Regions from separate parts of the Homo sapiens genome. Here region 2 is linked to region 1. The links are contacts of gene promoters, found by promoter capture Hi-C in blood cells and fetal thymus (Javierre and others, 2016). All regions are on one chromosome and are shown on one strand. Each heading gives the region's core, a stretch centred on a gene start or on the middle of the fragment in contact. The rest is flanking DNA. Distances are from core to core; before and after follow the strand shown. Region 1 holds the start of PIP (prolactin induced protein). Region 2 holds the start of TRPV5 (transient receptor potential cation channel subfamily V member 5).

Evidence for each region. Contacts are between HindIII fragments. The CHiCAGO score rates a contact against its expected background, and 5 or more counts as called.
Region 2: the fragment with the promoter of TRPV5 here is called in contact with the fragment with the promoter of PIP in region 1 in 10 of 17 cell types (total B cells, monocytes, activated CD4 T cells and 7 more); the score reaches 10.6 in total B cells.

What each region holds. Positions count from the first base shown.
Region 1 is chr7:143,129,244-143,133,883 of GRCh38, reverse strand. It overlaps PIP (prolactin induced protein), which reads right to left and starts at 1,807. Exons shown (of 4, transcript NM_002652.3): 1 at 1,673-1,807. The coding sequence starts at 1,767. The HindIII fragment of the contact is 4,172 bases long and covers 1-4,023 here.
Region 2 is chr7:142,932,223-142,936,378 of GRCh38, reverse strand. It overlaps TRPV5 (transient receptor potential cation channel subfamily V member 5), which reads left to right and starts at 2,633. Exons shown (of 15, transcript NM_019841.7): 1 at 2,633-3,047. The coding sequence starts at 2,920. LOC105375542 (a long non-coding RNA gene) reads left to right here. Exons shown (of 2, transcript XR_928065.1): 2 at 533-652. The HindIII fragment of the contact is 14,618 bases long and covers 1-3,026 here.

The DNA of each region.
Region 1 (4,640 bases), core at 558-3,057:
AACTTACTCATGTAACCAAATACCACTTGTACCCCAGTAACTTATGGAAAAATAAAATAAAATAATAAAAAATTTTAAAAACCCAGCAAACATCTCAATGCACTGGAGGTATTTGTAGGAGCATCTTTGAAGATCCTCCTTCTGTGGTCCCCAGGTAGGGTTTAGGAATTTGTATTTATTTAGCTCCTTAGGAAATTTGGACATATGGCCATGTTTGGGAACTTTAGATACTACTCTACATTTAGACCATACACTGCAATCTGAAAAGGAAAGGAAATGGAGACAAATAAAATGGTCAAATGTTCTTCTTCAGTCAATGAGGACTGGGTTCGGGGCCAGGAGAGTTATTTTCTCGTCCCTAGAAACTCCCGGCTACGGACCTTTGTTATTGTGTGGGACAGAAGGGAATTGAGATTCTTAGCCCACAGTGTCTCACAGCCCCATTTTCTTGGGGCAAAGCATCTTAGAGAGATTCTATTTTTTGGTGCCAACTGCTGTAGTGCCCAGTGCACAGGAAAAGGGTATAAATACCTAAGCAACTTCAAAATCTCTCCCATTTGTATATGAGTTTCAGATTGATAGGATGACCAGCTTAGTTCGAGTGACTAACCATCTCAGTTTACCCAGGACTGAGGTCTTTTCCAGAATGGGTTGTGGAGGTGGCGGGGGAGGGCAGAGTTGCAGTGCTACAACCAGGAAAGTTCTGGGCAAATCAGGATGGATGGTTGATAACCTAATTAGCATAGCTTATTTGAATACCTTGCTGCCCTTCAGGGCTAAGTGGACTGTCATCTGGCGGGAATGGGGTGGGATCTGAACCTGTCCCCATGCAGGGTTTCTTGGGACACTTGCCTCCATTACATTAGCTTGTCAAAACCCTGAACAGTTTCCTCCAGGACAGGATATCTGACCATGCCATAGAGAGTACCTCCAAGATCACAACCCAGAAACCCAGCATTATAAACCCTACTGCTATAGAGAAAACTCCCTAGATTGGGTATCGCTGCTTTCTCCCAGACCCTTGGCTCCATTTTCTACTTTATTTTACTTGCTCCAATTTTTCTGCTTCCTTCACACATGTGTTCTCAATAAGTTGACTTCTGAACCTGTGCTCTCAGGTCCCAGTATACGTGAGAGCAAGAGGTCATCATATTCATCTTCAGACTTCAGGTTAGGAAGAATGTCTAAGCTGCCAGTCTAGCTCAATCTCAGACCACAGGGCAGTGGCCAGGGCCTCTGGTCCTTTAGCCAGTCCTGCCAAAGCTGCCCTAAGCTGCCATTGGAATTCACAGACCTGTTATGCTTCTCTTCTAGGAGGCAAGGTGTGAGAAGGTAAAGTTTACTGAGCAGAAATCTGAACAAAGGTATAAATTATGAACAAGATGTGGATCAGCATGTTAGATGAAGACTAACTACTAATTACAGCCTGTAGGTACATTTGGAGCTTTATTTCCACTGGCAATGCAGAAACACCCAGCAAAAATGTGAGAGGAGTTGGTGGGGCTTCCTAAGAGGACAAGAAGTGGAACCTGGCAGGAGATCCATGGGAGCTCCTGGGACTAGAGTTCTGGGAAGTTGAAAGAAATTCTCAGAAAGAGATATGTAATTTCCAGACTGGGAGAGGAGCCCTCCCTGCAATTTTTTTTGTGGGGAGGAGAAGGGCATGGCTCACGTGTTGTCCTGAGCTTTGTTGGCCCCCAACTGCAGGCAGAGAACCAGGAGCAGGGTGGCAGGGCTGGCCCTGAACAGGAGCTGGAGCAAGCGCATGCTGGAGAAAACAGAAGGCAATGTGTCCCAGAGAAGTGGTGTCCCAGGTGCCCAGCACATTTCTTATATACAGATTGATCAAGGAAGTGCAAGAGCTGCCAGGGAGATCCATGAGGTGAATCACCCATTCACCCTCCCCACTCGTGATCTTTCCTTGTTGACCCAAAGTTTGTTTTTCTAAGAAAAAATCAACACTCAGCTAGAATGTCAGCGTTTGAGAGAGGAGTCAGATTGTTCTTCCTTATTTTTTCAGCATCAGAGTTTCTCAAAATGGCTGGGACCTCAAAAGATACACCAGTTTTTCCCGAGTTTACAGATTCAGTTTTCTTTTCCCTCCTAATTTGCCTGTCTGAAGTGCTATGTGTAGTCTTAGCTTCAGTCACTGCTCCCCTGGTCTCTGAAAGCAGAGAACACAGCTGTGGTGGCAGGTTTCAGACCAGAGACATAGAACATCTTTGCTTGATCAAATTATAGTGAGTTCAAGATGCAATGCTATTCAAAACATTTCTTGGAGGGCTAGGATGATCAGGACTTCCCTAGCAGTCACTACCCATCATGAGGTGGAAGAGCTAGAGAAGACCTGAGCTGCTCTACATGATGGGGAAGTGAGTTCAAGACACTGGGTGATGTAAAGATGTTTATTGTCATTGAGTCCTTCTTAATTTCAGGTGTGGTTGCAATATACTGCAGATGTCCAAGATCCCCAGCTGCCCCACAATCCCCAAGGCAGGGTGATATTTTAATTCTAGACAATTCCTATAAATAGCTGGCACCCCCAAATCAGACTTCTTGGCACCAAAGAGCTGGCTTATTTTCTTATTGACATGGCCACTTTCTTACACTTGTCTCATGCGTAAGCCACACAGGAAGAACCACAGTGGAAAGGATTCCTTCTGTGAGAATGGAGCCCACATTATGTCCAGTAGATACCCAGGTTGTAGAATTCCTCTCCTTGGGATGATGGGGAGACTTGCTCTTGCTGACACTGGCATTGTGTTATTTCTCCTTATGAAATTAAATCTGCTCCTTAACCTATGACTTACAATACTATGGGATTTGTTTCTATCATTTGCATGGCACACAGCTGCCCAGGAAGAGCCTCTCTGGCAACAGAGTGAAAATCAGAGTTCTAGGAGTTACCGCCTCTGTATGTTGCTTTAGCCAGGATTCAGAGCTAAAGTGTAAGTGTGTGCTTCTGCTTTCTGGATGTATCTCTCAAAATTGCTCTGTCTGTTTATTCAGCTCCTGGATCTACCTTCTCTTTTCTTTGAATTGGACACCATTCATGTCATTGCTCACTCAGAACTTCAGCTGTTCTCATGATCACATGCTTTCTTCCCTGTTTATGTCCTATCCACTCAAGAACACTGCTTGTGAGGGTCACAATGACCTTCCTTTGTAAGCCTTTTCCCACAATTAAATTGTCTTTACACCTGGTCCTTCTCACTTGCATAATTTCCATTTGAAGCACATCCTAGCTACACTGACCAAGGCAGGCATAAGGCAGAAGAATCTAGGAAGTGTCTGTGTGGGAAAATGCAGGAAAAGTTCTTTGCTTGGCTCTTTGAAGGCATAGCCCTGTCCTTGAGGATGCAACTCCAGCACTCCCAAAAGGCAGTGTCCAGAGGAAGGCAGATGACGATGGGTTAAGAGCATCTATTGAAGGTAATGAGGCTGTTCTTCTGTGAGCTAGCAGGAAACTGCAATACCTACAATGTACAGGACAATCTTTTTTTTTTGAGACAGAATCTCACTCATCCAGGCTGGAGTGCAGTGGCATGATCTCAGCTCACTGCAGCCTCCACCTCCCGGGTTCAGGAAATTCTCATGCCTCAGCCACCCGAGTAGTGGGGATTATAGGCAGGTGCCACCATACCCGGCTAATTTTTGTATTTTTGGTAGAGATGGGGTTTCACCATGTTGGCCAAGCTGATCTTACATTCCTGACCTCAAGTGATCCACCTGCCTCGGCCTCCCAAATTGCTGGGATTACAGGTGTGAGCCACTGTGCCTGGCCTAGGACAAGTCTTATTCAGGCCATGACTGCTGTGATGGTTACTTTTATTTGTTAGCTTAGCTAGGCATGGTGCCCACTTTTTGGAAAAACAACAGTTTAGAAGTTGCTGTGAAGTTGTTGTTTGTTTGTTTGTTTTAAATGTGATTAACATTTAAATCAGTAAAATTTGAGTAAAACAGATTACCTCCATAATATGGGTCAGACTCATTGGATCAGTTGAAAGTCTTAAGAGAAAAGCTTGAGGTCCCTTGAGGAAGAAGATTAGGGAGAAAAAGAAACCATAATTATTATGCCATAAAGAATGAACAAGTCTAGGTTTAAGAAATCAGATAAAGGTTGATAAAATCAGATTGTAAACAACTCAGGAAGCTTACAGAAGAGAATGTGTATAGTCCCATAGGGAAAGAGTTAGAATATAGGTGAGGCTTGCCACAGGCTAAGTTTACAAAGAGAAAGATAATCTTAGTCCTGACAGGGCTCATGAGAAGAAGATAAGGAGTGGACAGAGAGGGAGTTATAGACACCAACACACATGAAGCATATGCTGTGTGCATTACACTGCTCTAAACATTTTAACATATATTAGCTCAATCTTTATTACAACCCTGTGAAGGTGGTTGCCATTTTTATTCCATTTTACAAGAGGAGAAACAGAGACCCAGGAGATAAATATCTAACCCAGACCATATAGCCAGTATATGGCAGAGTCAACTTTGCAAGCAGGTTTTGTGGAATCTGAGTTTTGATTTACAGTATCTGAGAACCTCTTTTTGAAATAGAATCCAAACTTACAAATGTAAACTACAGGTACAGGATCTTGGAGGAGGCACCCATAAGTAGGAAGCCCTGAGGCTTC
Region 2 (4,156 bases), core at 1,384-3,883, 200 kb after region 1:
CGAAGGCCCAGGGATGGCGGGTGGGGGGGCCTGAGCATTGGGCCTCCCCTTTCTCTTCCCCAGACCCCTGGACATGCCCTTGGCGGCAAGTCCCTGCACACCTGCTCTGTGCAGCTCAGACTGGGCCAGCCTCCTCCCCTGCCGGCCCCCCATGTCCCAACCCCCCCGCCCCAGGACCAGCTTTATGGGTTGTAGTTTCCTTGGCAGGTGCTCCTTTCCTGACCTGCCTCGCTTATCAAGGCATCTACAACCCCCACCTCACCCTTATCGCTCCCTCCATCTCCTTAGACTGGAAGTCACTCCACAAGGGCGTCACCCCCAGCGAGGCAGAAAAATGTCCCACAAGTTGAGCCCTCCCCACTCCCAGTGAGAACATAATTCCACTGTATCTTTTTTTTTTTTTACTTAACTTTTCCTTTTGGCTTTTAATAAGAAAAAGATCCAAATTTTCCCCCTTTTGAAACATCAATGAACACTAGCTCCTCTTAGTTTCCTTATTTATTTTCCTTTCAATTCTTGTCCTTCTCTAAAGGTTATTTTGTCCATCCCTCAATCTTGGGAGCAGATCTCTCTTTCTTACAACAAAAGAAGGGGGCAGTCCCCACTCCTCAAGACCCCCAGAGGGAGAGTCCCAGCGTATCCTCACGCTGGTCTCTCACACCTTTACAGCCAAAAGATTCCCAAGAAGCAACAAGGTCTGGAGAGTGGTTTGGAGCTGAGATCCCAAGTTCATGGCCAGTTACAGTCTCGCCACTAGCCATGGGACTTGGGGCCAGCACACCCAAGAATTCTCACAGACGGAATTCTTCCTTGTTCTCATTTACCTGATAGGTCTATTGAGTGAATGCAATTCAATAATATTGATGTACCTCTTTGAAAACAATGAGAACAGAATTGAACAATGAGAACACTTGGACACAGGAAGGGGAACATCACACACCAGGACCTGTCGTGGGGTTGGGGGAGGGGGGAGGGATACATTAGGAGATATACCTAATGTAAATGACAGTTAATGGGTGCAGCACACCAACATGGCACATGTATACATATGTAACAAACCTGCATATTGTGCACATGTACCCTAGAACTTAAAGTATAATAATAAAAAAAATGAGAACATAAATACAAGCTATCATATACAGTAGTCACCTTTTATCCTCAGGGGATACATTCCAAGACGCCCCAGTGGATGCCAGGAACCTTAGATAGCACCAAACCCTGTATATACTATCTTTTTTCCTACACGTACATACATACATACATACATACATACATACATACATACATACATACATATGATGAAGTTTAATTTATACATTAGGCACAGTGAAGAGTTTAGGCCGGGCATAGTGACTCACGCCTGTAATCCCAGCACTTCAGGAGGCCGAGGCAAGCAGATCACCTGAGGTCAGGAGTTCGAGACTAGCCTGGCCAACATGGTAAAACCCTGTCTCTACTAAAAATACAAAAATTAGCCAGGCGTGGTGGTGGGCACCTGTAATCCCAGCTACTAGGGAGGCTGCGGCAGGAGAATAACTTGAACCTGGAAGGTGGATGTTGCAGTGAGCCAAGATCACACCATTGCTCTCCAGCCTGGGCAACGAAAGTGAAACTCTGTCTCAAAAAAAAAAAAAAAAGAGTTTAACAACAATAAAATGAAAATTATAATAATATAAAGTTATGTGAATGTTCTCTTTCTCTCTGTCTCTCAAAATATGTTATAGTACTGTACTCACCTATTTTCCAACTGTGGCTGACCTTAGGTAACTGAACCATCAGAGAGTGAAACTGTGGATAAGGGAAACTACTTAATATATAAAATATAATATAAAATATATAAAATAGTGCAACATTACTTATTCCTCCTGGTGTTTCATTCCTGGAAAGAGTCCCAAACATGGAATCACGATTTATTTGTCGTCTACCTTTGCTCAGTTTCTGCTGTTCAACCTCCATAATAACTCGAGGCCCCTGGGGGCTCCTCTGACCTGCGTCCCCAGGTACCAGAGCCTGCTCGGCGACGCTCCAGGAAGCTGGCCGGTCACGGTCATGAGGACTTCTCACAGAGAGGGATTGGCCTGGGAAGTGGGGGTCAGAAACCCTCCTTTGAGGTACAGGGTTGAGGACAGAGATGACCACAAGACACATAAATGGGAAGCTCTGAGAAGCAGCCCGGGGGTCTCTTGAGCCCTCTTGTGGAAGGAGGATCGGCAGTGATTGAGTACTTGTGACACATGCTTTACAGATGCTCCCGTGAGACGGCATAGCCGTTACCCCAATTTCACAGGTTAGGAACTGAGGCTCAGAAAGCTCACCTAACTGTAAGGGATAAGAGTCAGGATTTGAACCAGGCTCTGCCTGACTCTTGAGCTGGAAGTCTTTATTTCCTCCTCTCCCTCATGCAACTAACTGTGCACCTTGTTTGTGGACCCACCTTCCATCCCTTTTCTTTTTCCAAATTCCTCTGCCCCACCTCTTAGCTTCTCGGGTCTCAGCCATCCCAGCCCACAGTTAGGAACCTTCCTTCCCCTCCTCCTTTTCTTCCCCAGGGTGGTTCTGTGGCTGTGGGGCTCAGCTCTGCAAAGAGCTCCTCCCCCTCCAGGAAAAGCACTTCTCCCCAGGCAGGGCGGTCAGTCCCCTCAGCGCACCTGCATGCACACACACCACCTCACAACCACACACTGCATGCACACACATACACCACAGCCACACACTGTGCATACACGCACACCCCACAACCCACATACTGCATGCACACACACACACCTACAAGCTGCATGCTGCATACACAAGTCATACAGGAGATAAACTCAGAGTCCCAGCCCCAAATAGACCCCATCTCTTGCTCAGTTGCTGTCATCCTAGACCTGTTTCTTTCGCCACATTTCTATAATCTGCCAGTGTCTGCAAGGAGAAGACATGGGGGGTTTTCTACCTAAGGCAGAAGGGCCCGGGAGCCAACTCCAGAAACTTCTGCCCTCCTTTCTGGTCAGAGAACAAGACTGGGACCAGCACCTGGACAAGCTTCATATGCTGCAGCAGAAGAGGTAGGCTTCCTAGAACGATCCGTGGCCCTACCGCCGTGATCCTCAGACCCTCTGACCCACCTGGGCCTGCTTTCCGAATACAGCACCCTAGAAGTGTATTGTCAGTGCCAGTCACTCAGACATACCCTTTCCTTCCAGCCCACCTAATTACAGAATCCCAGCTGGCCCCTTTTAGTGGCGGTGGAGGATGTGGCTTTGGGCCACACAGGAAAATCTTGAGGGTAGACCTAAGGACAGAGGCAGAATGACAGCCAAGGGGGAGTGAAAGGACCAAAAAGGACCAGAGGGAAGAAGCCAGGTTGTGTGGGATGGGGAGGGAAGGCAGAAGCAGGCTGCTGAAGAAGGGATGCACTCCTGTGGGTGGTGGAAGCACGATAAGGAAACGCCATTCATTTGAATGAAAGTGGACTGTGTGGGAAAGGGGAGGAGCGCTTTGTTTGGTGTAACACTGGGTGCTGACCAGTGGAGGAGGGCAGCTCAGGTGACACTGGAGGGCTCTGAGTTCAGTCCATCTGCCTTTTATTGAGTCTACTGTGTGCAGAGGGGTGTTAGATCCCAATGACATAAAGATTGAATGAGACTTGTGCCTGCTCCTGGAGAGCTCTTAGTTCGGGCAGGGCTAGCACACCTGCAGGTAAATCATTTCATGGCTTAGCCCTGAGGTCCAGTCCCAGGAAGAGCAGCTGGGGCAGGGACGAATCCTGTGGGCTGCTTCTTCCTCCAAGTGTTTTGGGGCTTGCCTCCCACCCAACAGCTGCCTGAGGGGTGAGGTTGTTGAGCAGACATTAGCAGTCACAAAGGGCTCCCCTGTACTCCAGAAGATTCCTGTGCTTTGTTCAATGCCCTGCTGTCCTCATCTTCAAGTTCTTAATAATTTTGAACAAGGGGTCCTGCATTTGCAGTTTACACTGGGCCTGGTCCCAAGTACCTCTGAGCCCTCATACTGTCAAGCCCTCTGCTTCCTCATCTCCCCACCCAATACCTCCAGTGGAATCTCACCTTCCTGCTTTAGAGTGGGACCCCTGGGTCTCTGAGAAAGTGAGCTTCCAGCCCCAACTTGGACCCTCTGCAGAGGGGCAGTGGGGATAGAGGGCCAGGGAGGCAAGGAC